Linked DNA regions of Homo sapiens: all the other regions are linked to region 1. Evidence: promoter capture Hi-C in 16 types of primary human blood cells and fetal thymus (Javierre and others, 2016). All regions are on one chromosome and are shown on one strand. The core of a region is centred on a gene start or on the middle of the fragment in contact, and the rest is flanking DNA. Distances in the headings are between cores, read along the strand shown.

What was found. The method cuts DNA at HindIII sites, captures the fragments that hold promoters and counts their contacts. A CHiCAGO score of 5 or more calls a contact.
Region 2: a fragment that was not itself captured here is called in contact with the fragment with the promoter of COPS4 in region 1 in 12 of 17 cell types (M1 macrophages, total B cells, neutrophils and 9 more); the score reaches 7.8 in M1 macrophages.
Region 3: a contact is called between a fragment that was not itself captured here and the fragment with the promoter of COPS4 in region 1, in 2 of 17 cell types (neutrophils and M1 macrophages). The highest score is 5.7, in neutrophils.

The regions. Positions count from the first base shown.
Region 1 is chr4:83,032,806-83,037,757 of GRCh38, forward strand. COPS4 (COP9 signalosome subunit 4) reads left to right here and starts at 2,378. Exons shown (of 10, transcript NM_016129.3): 1 at 2,378-2,493. The coding sequence starts at 2,420. RefSeq lists enhancers at 1,898-2,017, 2,091-2,385, 2,148-2,497, 2,598-2,647, 2,688-2,747 and 2 more. The HindIII fragment of the contact is 6,632 bases long and covers 1-4,952 here.
Region 2 is chr4:83,262,790-83,267,741 of GRCh38, forward strand. COQ2 (coenzyme Q2, polyprenyltransferase) reads right to left here. Exons shown (of 7, transcript NM_001358921.2): 6 at 4,797-4,952; 7 at 1,035-1,574. The coding sequence ends at 1,410. Among named protein-coding and RNA genes, the nearest start is that of COQ2, 20 kb to the right of the region's middle. The HindIII fragment of the contact is 4,496 bases long and covers 1-4,143 here.
Region 3 is chr4:83,232,703-83,237,654 of GRCh38, forward strand. No RefSeq gene overlaps it. Among named protein-coding and RNA genes, the nearest start is that of COQ2, 50 kb to the right of the region's middle. RefSeq lists an enhancer at 2,838-2,887. The HindIII fragment of the contact is 3,468 bases long and covers 175-3,642 here.

The DNA of each region.
Region 1 (4,952 bases), core at 1,128-3,627:
AGTAGCTGGGACTACAGGCACCCGCCACCACGCCTGGTTAATTTTTTGTGTTTTTAGTAGAGAAAGAGTTTCACCATGTTGAGCAGGCTGGTCTCGAACTCCTGACCTCAGGTGATCCACCTGCCTTGGCCTCCTAAAGTGGTGGTATTACAGGCATGAGCCACCACGCCTGGCTGAGAACAGACTAATACACATTCTTAAAAGGGATTCCTTCTTCAGGTATTCTTCTCTTTCTCTTTCCCAATAGAGGGAATATGCCATTTATCACACATCAAGATGGCAAAAATCCAAAAGTTTGACATCCTTTGTAGTCAAGGCTGTAGGAAGCTGCACCCCTATATATTTCTGGTAGGAAGGCAAAATGATACCATTCCTATAAAATGCAATTTGGCAATATCTACCAAAATTGTATGTCTATCCTTTGCCTCATTTCTGGTAATGTGTTCTACCTGTACATATATAATGTATGCAAAGGTTATTCATCGCATTGATTAAAAATAACATGTCCTATAAGGATTAAATAAACTAAGGCATACTCTCACTGTGTAATATCCTCTAGCTCCAAAAAGAGTGATTTTGAAAGACTGGACAGCTGGTAAGATGTCCAGCTGTCTTAGTCTGTTTTCTGTTGCTTATACCAGAATACCTGAAACTGGGTAATTTATAAAGAAAAGGAATTTATATCTTAGAGTTATGAAGGCCAAGAAGTCTAAGGTCAAGGGGCCACATCTAATGAGACCCTTCTTGCTGGTGGGGACTTGCTAGAGTTCAGAAGCAGCACAGGGTATCACATGGCAAGGGAGTGACCTTCCTAACATGCTAGCTCAGGTCTCTTCCTCTTCTAATAAAGCCACATGTTCTCTCCCATGACAACCCATTAATCCATGAATAGATCAAGGGTTTTGCCCTCATGATCCAATCACCTATTTAAGGCCCACCTCTAAATACTGCCACATTAAAGATGAAGTTTCAACATGAGTTGTTTGTTTTTTTTTTTTTTTTTGAGACGGAATTTCCCTCTTGTTGCCCAGGCTGGAGTGCAGTGGTGCAATCTTGGCTCACCGTAACCTTCGCCTTCCAGCTTCAAGTGATTCTCGTGCCTCAGCCTCCCGAGTAGCTGAGATTACAGGCACGTGCCACCACACCCAGCTAATTTTTGTATTTTTAGTTGAGACGGGGTTTCTCCATGTTGGTCAGGCTGGTCTCGAACTCCCGACCTCAGGTGATCCGTCCACCTCGGCCTCCCAAAGTGCTGGGATTACAGACGTGAGCCACGGCGCCAGCCCTCAACATGAGTTTTGGAGAAGACAATTATTTCAAACCACAGTACCAGGAAAAGTGCAAAAAAAAAAAACCAAGGCAGAACAATTATGTGGTGTTGCTTGTGAGAGGTAAAATTTTATTTTATTAATATTTGCTTGTATTTGCAGAAATTCTATAAGAATACATGAGTATTGAATGTTATACAAACGCAGGCGACCATATAATCTTCCATTGAAATGGAACGGTTTCTAGAATGAAAGGGAGGATGTTATTATTATTATTATTATTTTTTGAGACCGAGTCTCGCTGTGTCTCCCAGGCTGGAGTGCAGTGGCGCGATCTCGGCTCACTGCAAACTCCGCCTCCCGGGTTCACGCCATTCTCCTGCCTCAGCCTCCCGAGTTGCTGGGACTACAGGGGTGCACCACCTACGCCCGGCTAATTTTTTTGTATTTTTAGTAGAGAACGGGGTTTCACCGTGTTAGCCAGGATGGCCTCGATCTCTTGACCTCGTGATCCGCCCGCCTCGGCTGCCCAAAGTGCTGGGATTACAGGCGTGAGCCACCGCGCCCGGCCGAAAGGGGGGATATTAATCATTACTCCAGGACGACAGAGGGAAAATCGCTTTGTACTGGACAAACTGGAATGTCTGACCAACCATTATAAAGTGCACGGAGTGGGAGGAGGAATAGGGACATTTTAATTGTATTTCTAAAAAGTATCTTCTGTGGTGAATCGGAAACAAAACTCATTCTTTACCACAGGCAGTTTAAGCGCTGCCTGAAAGATCGAAGGACGGTAAACCACAGACGTGAGAAACGGAACTTTGCGAAAACGCAGTCGTTTTATGTACCGGCTACTCATTGGAGTTACACCAGAGACTCACTACTGGAGTTCATCAGCCAATCCAAAGTCCAAGCGTGAGAGCCAGAGCCTGTAGGAGAGACCTGGGCAGGCCTCAGACCTGAGGAGTGGAGCTCCGCATCACTCAACCCTGGGGGCGGAGCTAGCCCAGGCTCCCACACCCGACGCTCTGGCCCACACAGACGCTACTCTGTAGCATCTCAGGTTCCCTCTGGCTGCACTCTGGAGGACCACACTCGTTTTCTTTTTGGCTGCCAGAGGCCCCCGCATCCACCGCTGAGCTGGGAGAAAGATGGCGGCAGCCGTGCGACAGGATTTGGCCCAGCTCATGAATTCGAGCGGCTCTCATAAAGATCTGGCTGGCAAGTGAGTATTTCCCAGGAACGCGGGAGTACAGAGGTGGGGAAAGAAAGCCACAGCCTTAATCTCCTTAGGTTGGCCACGGCTCTTGGGCGTGAAGCTAGGAGCCGGCCTGACGTCCAAGGGGGCGGGCCTGAGGTCGGCTGGGGAGGCAAATGTTGGGAGAAGCAGAAAGCTGGAGGGGACCTTGTGCAGGGGCCTTCGAGGCTATAGACTTGAAATGATTGTCAGCTTGTTCAGTTCTTGATAGAATCTTTCTGGTCCCTTAGGATTTTGGAACAGCGGTCTGAGAGACGACTGCTACCCTGGCCTTAGTAGCCTTCCCTGGTACCTCTTCCCATCGCTGGCCGGCCTCACACCGAATCTGGCCTCTCTTTGGACCTTCCTCCTCTTTTTTTTTGATTCAGAGAAATGTATATTCTGGGGCCTTGATGCTGCGTTTTTCGGGGAGATGGCTTCTTGGGGCTGGCTGAGGTTGAGGCGGTATGGCCGCTGTCATGTCGTCCAGACCATTCAGACTGTCTTCTGTGGGTCCTTGTGTTTCGGGTATTTTCTCTGCCACCAACTCTGATGGCACATAGGCGGAATGTGCTCATATCGTGGGTCAGGATGTCTACAGTAGTGATGTTTGCAGGAATCTGAATTTTGTCGAAATTTATATAGAATGCTTAGGTTCACTCCAAGTTAAAATGTGTGACGTGCCTGTTCTGCAAGCAGTTGTCAACAGTATTAAGCATAGGTAGGTAGACGTATATTGTTCATTTTCTCTTTGTAGATGTCACAGCATTTCTCTTTTGTAATGAACATGCTTTCTGTTTAAAGTATGCCTCTCTAGGCCGGGTGCAGTGGCTCACGCCTGTAATCCCAGCACTTTGAGAGGCTGAGATCACTTGAGGCCTGAGAGATCTGAGAGGGAGGATCACTTGAGGGCAGGAGTTCTAGACCAGCCTGGGCAACATAGTGAGACCCCCCCCCCCGCCGCCACCCGTCTCCGTAAATAAATAAGTAAATAAAGTATGCCTCTCAAGTTGATCTTAATGTTTACATCCTGACAGCTGAAATCACTTTGATGTATATTAATGGGATACACCTGTTCTAACCTGGTCATTGAAATTCTGACTGTTTTAAGTAGGCTAGGCTGCCTTTTCTCTGGTGGCAAACGTAATCTACTTTTATCAGTGGGAAATTCAGCCGTATATTTTGGGCTTAACTACTTTGTGCTGCATTTTCCCACTCAGGAAAATGAAGATAATAATAGGACTTATTCTTGTCTGACATTATCTGAGGACAAGATGAGTATGTGTGTGCATATATACTTACCACACTTATATCACGTAGAACAGTACCTGACATATAGAAAGTGCGGTAAGATTGTTGTTGTTACTATTAAGCTGTCAGTAAATATATATTCACTTATTGTATGGGTTGGAAATAAGTTAAATATGTCTTCATGGCTCAATCCTTTCTGCTTGTAATTTTTATATGGATGAAAGTAAAATCAGCTTATATTTTTCCCCATGCTTCCTTTACTTTTTATTTTGTTAAAGAAGAATAAGTGCATTAGTTATCAAAAGAAATAGAGCTTTGCAAGTATTTGCAGAATTCTGAAACTTAAGTATTTACTTCTTCAGGTCTGAATTGGAGATAAACAATAGTACTTAAAGCGTGCTTCAGTTATCTGTTGCTTTGTAACAAACCAAAAACTTAACCAGTGTAAAACAACTATGATTTCTCAGGATTCTATGGGTTGACTGGACTGCTTTGCTGGTCTTGTCTGGGCTCACTCATGCAGATATAGTCAGCTGGCAACACACCTGGGGCGGGACTCACATGCATATCTTGCTCTTGCCTGGATCTCTCTCTCTCTCTGCACAGTCTCTCATTCAGTAGTTTAGCTTGGGCTTTCTTAGGTGCCTATGAGAGGGGAAGTCGCAAGACCTCTTAAGGATAGCCTAGGAAGTCTCACGTCAGTTCTCTAGTACTGGTCAAAGTAAATCAGAAGACCAGCCCAGATTCAAGGGGAGGGGAAATGGAGCTTACTACTACCTCTTTAGTGGCAAAGTTACATTGCAAAGGAGCCTGGACAGAGGGAGACACGATTCATTGGAAGCCGTTACTGTAGCAGTCTACCACATGGTGTTATTGTGAAGATTAAATGAAATAATGTGCTTGATAACTGATAGCCAGTGCAGTCTTAGCCATAACTCCTTCAGAGCTGCTTTCTGAGAAAAGTCTTGGCCTTGCCTGCATTTCCTATGTGGGCAAGAATGTAGCAGGATATTTATCCTTACAACAACATCAGTTCTACCAGCTATATGCTTTAAGAGAAATACCCTTGAAATATATCAGTGTGTTTTTTTTTAATGTATTTTTTCTTGTATGTACTTTTAATGAAGGTTTTTGGGTGTTTTTTTTAGGAGCTGAGTAACAAAGGATTCCATATTAAAGAATAATGGAATACATTG
Region 2 (4,952 bases), core at 646-3,145, 230 kb after region 1:
AGTTACAGCTGCAACAACTGACCCAAGTCATTTTCAGTGGCTCAGTATTTGCTGAGTAAACAGTTAAATAATTTTTCCTATGCTTATCAGTGCCTGGCATATGTAAGTGCTGTTAGCTGCATCATCATCTTCATCATCACCATCATCGTCGCCCTCATCATGCAATTTTATATTTACTGCTGCCCACACCCACATATACAAATGACTGTCTGCCCTATAGCCTACTGTCTATGAGAGCAATTTAAATCAAGTAAGATATAGTTCAGGTTGCTAATATTAAGAGCTGAAGAGAAAAAAAAAAGCAAGGGGACAGAAGTATGGGTGGTATTTGCAGGTGAGATTTTTGAAGATGGCTAAGAAAAGCCTCTTAGAGAAGGTGACATTTAAGAAAGGTTCTGCAGTGAAGGAGTAAGACATGATCTGGGGAGAACTTTCCAGACAAAGTGAACAGTAAATGCAAAGGCCCTGGGGTAGGAGTCTGCCCAGCCTGTTTAAGGAAGAGTGAGGCCAGTGGGGCTACAGGTGTGAGTGTGAGAAGTCAGACATGAAGCCAAGTCATGGAGGGCCTGGCAGGTGGTAGGACTTTCGTTTTGTACTGAGTGACCTAGGGAGATCCTGGAGGGTTCTGGGGAGAGGAATGACATGACCTTACTCAGGTTTTAAGAGAATTACTCTGGTTACTGTGTTGAGAACATTGTGAAGGTGAGGGCAGGTAAAGGAAAAAACAGTAAACATTTAAATATCACTATCCTATAAACTATAATGGGATAAGATAAAAAAGATATAGACAGAAAATCAAGGTAGTCTCTGGTGACTGCCCACTTGTCTGTTCTGGTCACTGTGACTGCACACAGAGACCAAATCTCCCAAATAAAAGTCAGGGTTGGTAAACAGTGGTACATGTGGCTATAATAGCTAAATACTTCTATTTGGTTATTTAAATTCTCCTAAAACATAAAAAAACAGAATTGGTTTCCTAAATTACAGTTTTTGGCAGTGACTAAAGGTCACAATAAAGAACAGTAAGGCCCAACTTCCCATAGTTGCTTTTATTTTTCCCTAAAAAAAAGAGTCCATTTTCTTATACAGACATTCATTTATGTAAGACCCACATCAGGCTTTTTCTAAAGTGCCAAAACCCGTGCAATCCCCATAACTTCAGGTGAGAATTATAATGGGCAGAAGAATGTATCAACTAAAATACTCAAGGCCATCTCAAATCCTGAAGAGTCCCTGGTTTCTGTGACAAGGGGGAATTTTGCTAGCAAATAAGTAAAATCCAGGTAAATATGCTCTAAATCTTCATCTTCAGGTTCTTAATTCTTTAACATATTGTATCAGATTTTGTATTCAAATCTAATTATATTTTGTAAAAAATGTTTTAAAAATTCCTAGATAAATTTCATTCATTAATTTTCTATTTTATTCTCTATACCCTTCTTTGTTTTGTCTGTCTTCTTTTCTTTCCACAAATTCCCAAGGACAATCCCTAAAAAAACTATTAGTCCCAGTGTTCGGTTGGAGATAAATTTATTCCAACAATCCTCAGGTCTGTGGATGTCTAGAGTGTAAATCTGCAAGAGAGGAATACAAAGTTGTATTAATACCTAGTCTGGACTTTGGGTCATAACAAATAAACATGTTAACACGGAGGAGAAAACAGCAAATACAAAAAATACAAATATAAAAAATGAAAAATTAGCTAGGCACGAAGGCACATGCCTGTAGTCCCAGCTACTCAAGAGGCTGAGGTGGGAGGATTGCTTGAGGCCAAGAGGTCAAGGCTGCAATAAGCCATGATCACCCTACTGCACCCTCCTAGCCTGGGTGAGAGAGTGAGACTCTATCTCAAAAAAAAAGAAAAAGAAAAAGAAAAATTTACCATATTTTTCACTTGGAATCATCCAAGCTGTTTCTTAAGAATTTTCGGTTGAGGGTTGCATGAATGCTTGTGAGGCAACCCATACTGTTTTTAGTTCTAACGATTTAGAACGTTCTTCCTTATACTGACTGATCTAAAGTCTGTCTCCCTGCAACTCCTACCCTCCAGTTCTGGTTTTAGCGTCTGCAGCAAAGTTTCTCAATGGAGAACAAGTCCCATTTGGGCAGGACAACTCTAATGCAGGGCAATCTGGTGCAGCACAAGATATTGACTGTATCTGGCCATCATCCATATAGTCACCCCTCCTAGTTTATTATAACCAAAAATGCCCTCCCACATTTCTAAATCTCTCCTGTTCAGGGACCTACATTTAGGGAAGGGGAGCTAGAGACCTAAATCTGTTGCTAGTAATCTAGAACAAGCGTACTCCTTTTTCCCCATGGTAGCCCTGCAAATACACTAAGGAAGTCTCACGTATGTTCCTATCTTCCTTAGGCATGGGGGACTATTCTTTATTATGTGGTCTGCAGACTTACAATTATCATGATTTCCTTTCTCTTTAAATACTAAAAGGCTACGTCCATCTTTAAACACTGTATCGAAAACTGGACAGAGAGGCCAGGCGTGGTGGCTCATGCCTGTAATCCCAGCACTTTGGGAGGCTGAGGTGGGCGGATCACTTAAGGCCAAGAGTTTGCGATCAGTCTGGCCAACATGGCGAAGCCCCGTCTCTACTAAAAAAATACAAAAATGAGCTGGGCATGATGGCGTGTGCCTGTGATCCCAGCTACTACGGAGGCTGAGGCACGAGAATCGCTTGAAACCAGGAGGTGGTGGAGGTTGTACTGAGCCAAGATCGTGCCACTTCACTCCAGCCTGGGTGACAGAGGGAAGACTCTGTTTCAAAACAAACAACAACAACAACAACAACAAAACTGGACAGAGGACCATAAATGTGATTTAAAATATAAAGTGGGCTCCAAGTATTTCTTTTTTCTTCCTTTGTTTTTGAGACACAGTTTCCTTCTGTCACCCAGGCTGGAGTGCAGTGGCACCATCTTGGCTCACTGTAACCTCTGCCTCCCAGGTTTCAAGTGATTCTCCTGCCTCAGCCTCTCGAGTGGCTGGAATTACAGGTGCACACCACCATGCCCAGCTAATTTTTGTATTATTAGTAGAGACAGGGTTTATCCATGTTGGCCAGGCTGATCTTGAACTCCTGACCTCAAGTGATCTGCCCACCTCGGCCTCCCAAAGTGTTGGGATTACAGGCGTGAGCCACTGCGCCTGGCCGAATATTCCTTATAGTATTTGTGATTGTCTTAATAATTTTTGCCTTCCTGTACTATTTAATATTCAGGTGTTTAAATATTAACATATACCCATTATCCAGACCAGACAATCAAATGACAATGTCAGCCCTCATGGAGCTGAGCTATGACCAAAAAGGGATGCTGAGAAATTCTGAAGGGAAAAATGGTGACATCCTGGAAAGTCACCAATTCACATTTTAGTTTTCACAGTGAGGAAAACAGTGGAGGGGACACAGCATATGGTTTACTTTACAGACATCAGATTCTGATTTCCTTCATACCATGTTATGTGAGTCTTGCCTATACTGATAGTAATTGGCAATAATCTGTATAAAATCAGTCATCTAAATACAGCTTCATGAATATCTTCTTTTTTTTTTGTTTTTTTTTTGAGATGGAGTCTTGCTCTGTCGCCCAGGCTGGAGTGCAGTGGTGTGATCTTGGCTCACTGGAACCTCTACCTCCTGGGTTCAAGCGATTCTCCCGCCTCAGCCTCCTGAGTAGCTGGGATTACAGGTGCCCACCACCATGCCCAGCTAACTTTTATATTTTTGGTACAGACGGGGTTTTGCCATGTTGGCCAGGCTGGTCAAACTCCTGACCTCAGGTGATCCACCATGAATACCTTTTTGATTCTGTTTAATGAAAATAACAATAACACTGATATAAAAATATAGTCAATTTATTAGCAAGTGATTTAATCAAAATTAGATTTAGTTCATTCATTTACAAGTCAACAATGTAGATTCTCAACATAAGTTTCTGACAGGTAGGGGATGTGGTGTGGGTGAATATCCTGAAATGACAGCTTCCTGCTCTCTACTGGCAGAACTTTGACATGTTCCGCATTTCATGTCTTATCTGTCCTTGGTCTTTATGCCAGCAGAAACCAAATTTATGAATAATTAGTCTACTAACCATCACTAGAAACCCAGATTTTTTTTTAAAAGCTTTATCTGTCAGTTTGCTTTTAGAGTAATTCAACTCAAACCACAAGCTTCAGATATCACTGAAATTTTTCCAGACATGAATCAGAAGTAATTCCAGGAAAATCAGATGGGAAAATTTGGATTTAGGCCTATATTATTTTTAAAAAATAATATACCTTGGCTGGGGTTGGTAGCTCACACTGGTAATCCCAGCACTTTTGGGAGACCAGGGCAGGAAGATTGCTTGAAGCCAGGAATTTCAGACCAGCCTGGGCAAAATCTCAAGACCCCATTTCTACAAAAAATAAAAAAAATTAGCCAGGCATGGTGGTGCATGACTGTAGTCCCAGCTACCCAGGATGCTGAGGTGGGAGGATTGCTTCAGTCCAGGAGTTAGAGGTTGCAGTGAGCTGTGATTGCACCACTGCACTCCAGCCTGGATGACAGGCTGGACAGCACTGTTTCAAAAAAAATTTAAAAATAAAATAAAATACTAGAGCTAGCTTTCTTATAAGTTGAGGCCGGAGGGCAGGGGGGTCTGTTAAAGGTAGTAGAAGCCAAGTAGTTGTTTAAGAAGTTCCTTGCCAGGTAAACACAGAGGGCATACTGTTTAAATAATTTTTATAATTTATACCAAGGAAATATGAGGGACAAATAAGAAAAAGGTCAAACCTGGTGAGTCAGATGGGCTCCTACAGCACCCAGGGCAGCGTAGTAGGGAGCAGTCTGTCCACTGTTCACACCCACTAGGCTCAGTGCCCCCAGCATTGCAACACTGAAGCCGCTGAGCCACGGCTTGGTATTTTCTCCGAACCGCAGAGCCGTTGA
Region 3 (4,952 bases), core at 659-3,158, 200 kb after region 1:
AGATTGTGTTTGGGGGCTATAATTTTATGATCCTATGAAAGATTGTCCCCTACTTTGCCACTTCTGCCAATAAGACCTCTATGTCCTGTCTGCTCTCTTGTTCCCCCAAATAAAGCTTGGATTTCTGTACCATTAACTATCTGCCCAGCATACAAACCTTTAAGTAAGAAAGAAAGCTTCCTCTTAACCTTCATCCAAAAAAAAACAAAAACACACACAAACAAAAGAAAATCTGAACTAGGAATAGAGAGCTTTGGGGCTTCTTAAGTACAATGACTAATAAAATATAAACATACTTGCTGTCTCCAGGGGGTTTATAATTAAAATCATAATGTATATTGACATTGTTTATCAGGGTAAAGACTATACTAATTGGCAGGAATAGAATACTCTTTTCTTTTTTTCAAAAGTATAAGTACTGAAAAATTTGACCAATCTCTGTGTTCTACTTACTACTTCTAATGAAGACCTGACAATTCTACATTAATTTAACAGTAACTTTAAGCATTGGATATGTTGATTTGTAATTATCAGGAGAGACTGAGATCAAGCATTTATGTTGGTATATACATTACTAAAAATGATACAAAAATAGGGCTTTAATAAAATGAAGAAACTTTTTTTTATTTATATGCACCTAACAGAAACTGAGATCAGTATGTGCAACCTATGTCTCTGCCAAATTTATCCTCCTTCCAGCCCTACCTTGGAGAGGGGTAATCATCTAAAATTAAACTATTTGCAGACAATTTTTCTTGGAAATGTAATGTTAACAGAGGCAATTATTTTTCTTTAGGCTATAGAAAAACAAATTTTTATTTATTTATTTTTTATTTTAAAAAATAATGGAGTGGCAGGGTCTTGCTGTGTTGCCCAGGGTGGGCTTGAATTCCTGGGCTCAAGTGATCCTCCCACTTTGGTCTCTCAAAGTGCTGAGATTACAGGCATTACTGGCCTAGAAAAACAAATTCTGAATAAGTATGATAAGACAAATTCCTTGCCAGCAACTCAATTTTAGAAAATATAGTTTTTAATCTCAGGTAGCTTGGGATGGCAGAAACAAACTGTCTTACTGTTTATTCTTGAAATATACACTAAGAAACCTATATTCATAAGAAGAACTCTTTTAAAAGGGATAACATTTCATAAAAACTTTATTATTGACTTACATTTAACATATGAGCTGTAGTATTCTTCTAGAATTTTATATTCGTTTTTATTTTCTTGAGTTTTTTTGTTTTTGTTTTTGTTTTGTTTTGTTTTAGTTTTTGGTTTTTGGTTTGTTTGTTTTTTTGTTTTTTTTGAGACAGGGTCTCACTCACTCTGTCACCCAGGCTGGAGTGCAGTGGCATGATCTCGGCTCACTGTACCCTCGACCTCCTGGGCACAAGCAATACTCACTCAGCCTCTTGAGTAGCTGGGACTACAGGCACATGCCCCCATTCCTGGCTAATTTTCGTATTTTTAGTAAAGATAGGATTTTGCCATGTTGCCCAGGCTGGTCTCAAATTTCTGAGCTCAAACAGTCCTCCTGCCTTGGCCTCCCAAAATGCTGGGATTCCAGGCATAAGCCACCATGCCCAGCCTATTTTTTATTTTCTTGAATATTAAAGGCATTCCATGACTATTGAAGTCAACTAGTTTAAGTCTAATGAAGACCTGATTAAAGTTAAATATTTACCAAAATAAAAACAATTATTATTACCAAAGTAACACCAATCTTTAAAAATCATTCCAAAAAATTAAAGTATCCTGCAGGGACTATATTCAGCATGAGAGATGAAGTAGGGAATGTCAGGACTCTGAGCCTAAGCTAAGCCATCATATCCCTAGTGACCTGCATGTATACATCCAGATGGCCGGTTCCTGCCTTAACTGGTGATATTCCGCCACAAAAGAAGTGAAAATGGCCTGTTCCTGCCTTAACTGATGACATTACCTTGTGAAATTCCTTCTCCTGGCTCATCCTGGCTCAAAAGCTCCCCCTCTGAGCACCTTGTGACCCCCCACCCCTGCCCACCAGAGAAAAACCCCCCTTTTTCCTTTACCTACCCAAATCTTATAAAACGGCCCCACCCCTATCTCCCTTCCCTGACTCTCTTTTCGGACTCAGCCCACCTGCACCCAGGTGAAATAAACAGCCTTGTTGCTCACACAAAGCCTGTTTGGTGGTCTCTTCACATGGACGTGCGTGAAAGGGAATTTGTCACAGAACATTCAGCAGACAAACTTAAAGAGGGAATTTTAAACTAGCTTTCAGAACCTAGGCTCAGAGGCAGTACTCAAGTGAGGTCCTGCTGCAGATGACAACTGCAAAAGAAAATGAACATTGATTTTCTCCAAGTTAGACTCATTTATTTAGCTGTTACTCATAAAGTAGAAGCCAGGTAAGCAGTAGTGTTGACTCATACATAATTTGCAAAAGAGTTGATAAACTCGGACAACAGCAGTGGGACTGCTTTATAGTTTCAAAAGCCTCTTAACATCTTCTCTGTTTTGAGTGCATCATCTTCTCTAAGATGAATTATCTTCAGACCAAATTATATAAGTCAATCTGCAATGGAACAAGCTGGAGGAGATTTAGATTCACTATCTAGAGAAAAGTGTTCATTTGTTTAAAAGAAATACTTTAAACTGAGGGAATTCATCACCACTAGACCAGTCCTACAAGAAATGTTTGAGAGTCCTTCATCTAGAAGTGAAAGTGTCAGGCCTCTGAGCCCAAGCTAAGCCATCATATGCCCTGTGACCTGCACATATACATCCAGATGGCCGGAAGCAACTGAAGATCCACAAAAGTGAAAATGGCCTGTTCCTGCCTTAACTGATGACATTCCACCATTGCGATTTGTTCCTGCCCCACCTTAACTGAACTATTAACCTTGTGAAATTCCTCCTCCTGGCTCAGAACCTCCCCCACTGAGCACCTTGTGACCCCCGCCCCTGCCCATAAGAGAAAAACCCCCTTTGACTGTAATTTTCCACTACCCACCCAAATCCTGTAAAACAGCCCCACCCCATCTCCCTTTGCTGACTCTCTTTTCGGACTCAGCCCGCCTGTACCCAGGTGAAATAAACAGCCTTGTTGTTCACACAAAGCCTGTTTGGTGGTCTCTTCACATGGACACACATGACAGAAAGGATGATGTCTACCATCAAGAAAACACATAAGACTGTAAAACTCACTGGCATAGCAGATACACAAATGAGAAAGAGAAAGGAATCAAATGTTACCACTACAGAAAACCACCAAACCGCAATGATAAATAATGAAAGAGACAAAAGATCAATGAAACAAAAAGTTGGTTCTTTGCAAAGAAAAACAAAATTGATAAACTGCTAGCTAGAATAACCAAGAAGAGATAAGATCCAAATAAACATAATCAGAAATGAAAAAGGAGACATGACAACAGACACCAGAAATGCAAAAGGTCATCAGCGAGAATTATGAACAACTATATGCTCAAAAACTAGGAAACCTAGAGGGAATTGATTAAATACCAGGAAACATACTACCTTCTAAGATTAAACCAGGAAGAAACAGAAAACCTCAACAGACCAATAATGAGATTACATCATAATAAAAACTCTCCCCACAAAGAAAGGCCCAGAACTGGATCACTTTATTGCTGAATTCTATCAAGCTTATAAAGAACTAACACTAATTCTTCTCAAATCATTCCAAAAAATTAAAGAGGAGGGAAATCTTTCTAACTCATTCTGTAAGGCCAGCATTACCTGATGCTAAAACCAGACAAGGACACACAAAAAAAGAAAACTATGAGAGAAAAATATCTCTCAGGAACATAGATGTAAAAATCCTCATCAAAATACTAGCAAACTAAATCTAACAACCATCAAAAATATAATACACCATGATCAAGTGGGATTTATCCCAGGAATGCAAAAAATGGTTCCACATATGCAAATCAATAAATGTGATACATTAACCAAAGGAAGGACAAAAACCATATGATCATCTCAATAAACACAGAAAAAGCATTTGATAAAATTTAACATCCTTCATGATAAAACGTCTCAACAAGTTAGGCGTAAAAGAAACATACCTCAAAATAACAAAAGCCATATATGACAAACCCACAGCTAACATCATACCACCTGGGGAAAAGCTAAAAGCCTTTCCTCTAAGAACTGGAATAAGACAATGATGCTCACCTTTACTATTCTTATTCAACATAGTGCTGGAAGTCCTAGCCTGATCGATTAGGAAAGAGGAAGAAATAAGGACATAATCCAAGTTGGAAAAGAAGTGAAAGTGTCTCTCTTTACAGATGACATGATCTTATACTTAGAAAAACCTAAAGACTACCAAAAAAGTCTTACAAATGATAAGTAAATCCAGTAAAGTTGAAGGATACAAAAACCAATATACAAAAATTGGTAGTTTCTATATAACCAGGATGAACTAATTAAAAAGAAATCAAGAAAGCAATCCCGCATTTCCACCCACTTCCCCACCCAGTGCCACTCTGGCTACCCTGCACTCGCTCTGAGCTCCAGGCTTCTGCTAAGTTAGCAACACCATGGTCTCCCTTTAGCTGCTCTCATGATTACCTACCCTGGCATCATCAGCCACAATAGTTCAACATGTATAAGATTTGGGAGATTGCAGACAGGCTTGCCTGGAGTTGGAGGGAAAGATGGTAAGTAGGACGCAGGGTAACACTGATGACTTGTTCATTGGTGGAAATGCCTCTGCTGAAGGCCCTTAGGGCAAAGGTGCCTCCCAAAGTGCTGGGATTACAGGTGTGAGCTACCGTGCCCGGCCAGGTCTAAATATTTGTAACGAACTGTTAAATAAAATATGTTCTACCCTCACATCTTGACAAATACACTTTTATAATAACCTGGAAGGGCAGGTTCCTATTTAGAATTCTCAGACTTCTTGGGGTCTCCAGATTATGGAGACAGCTGGCTCCCTGGCTGCCCAT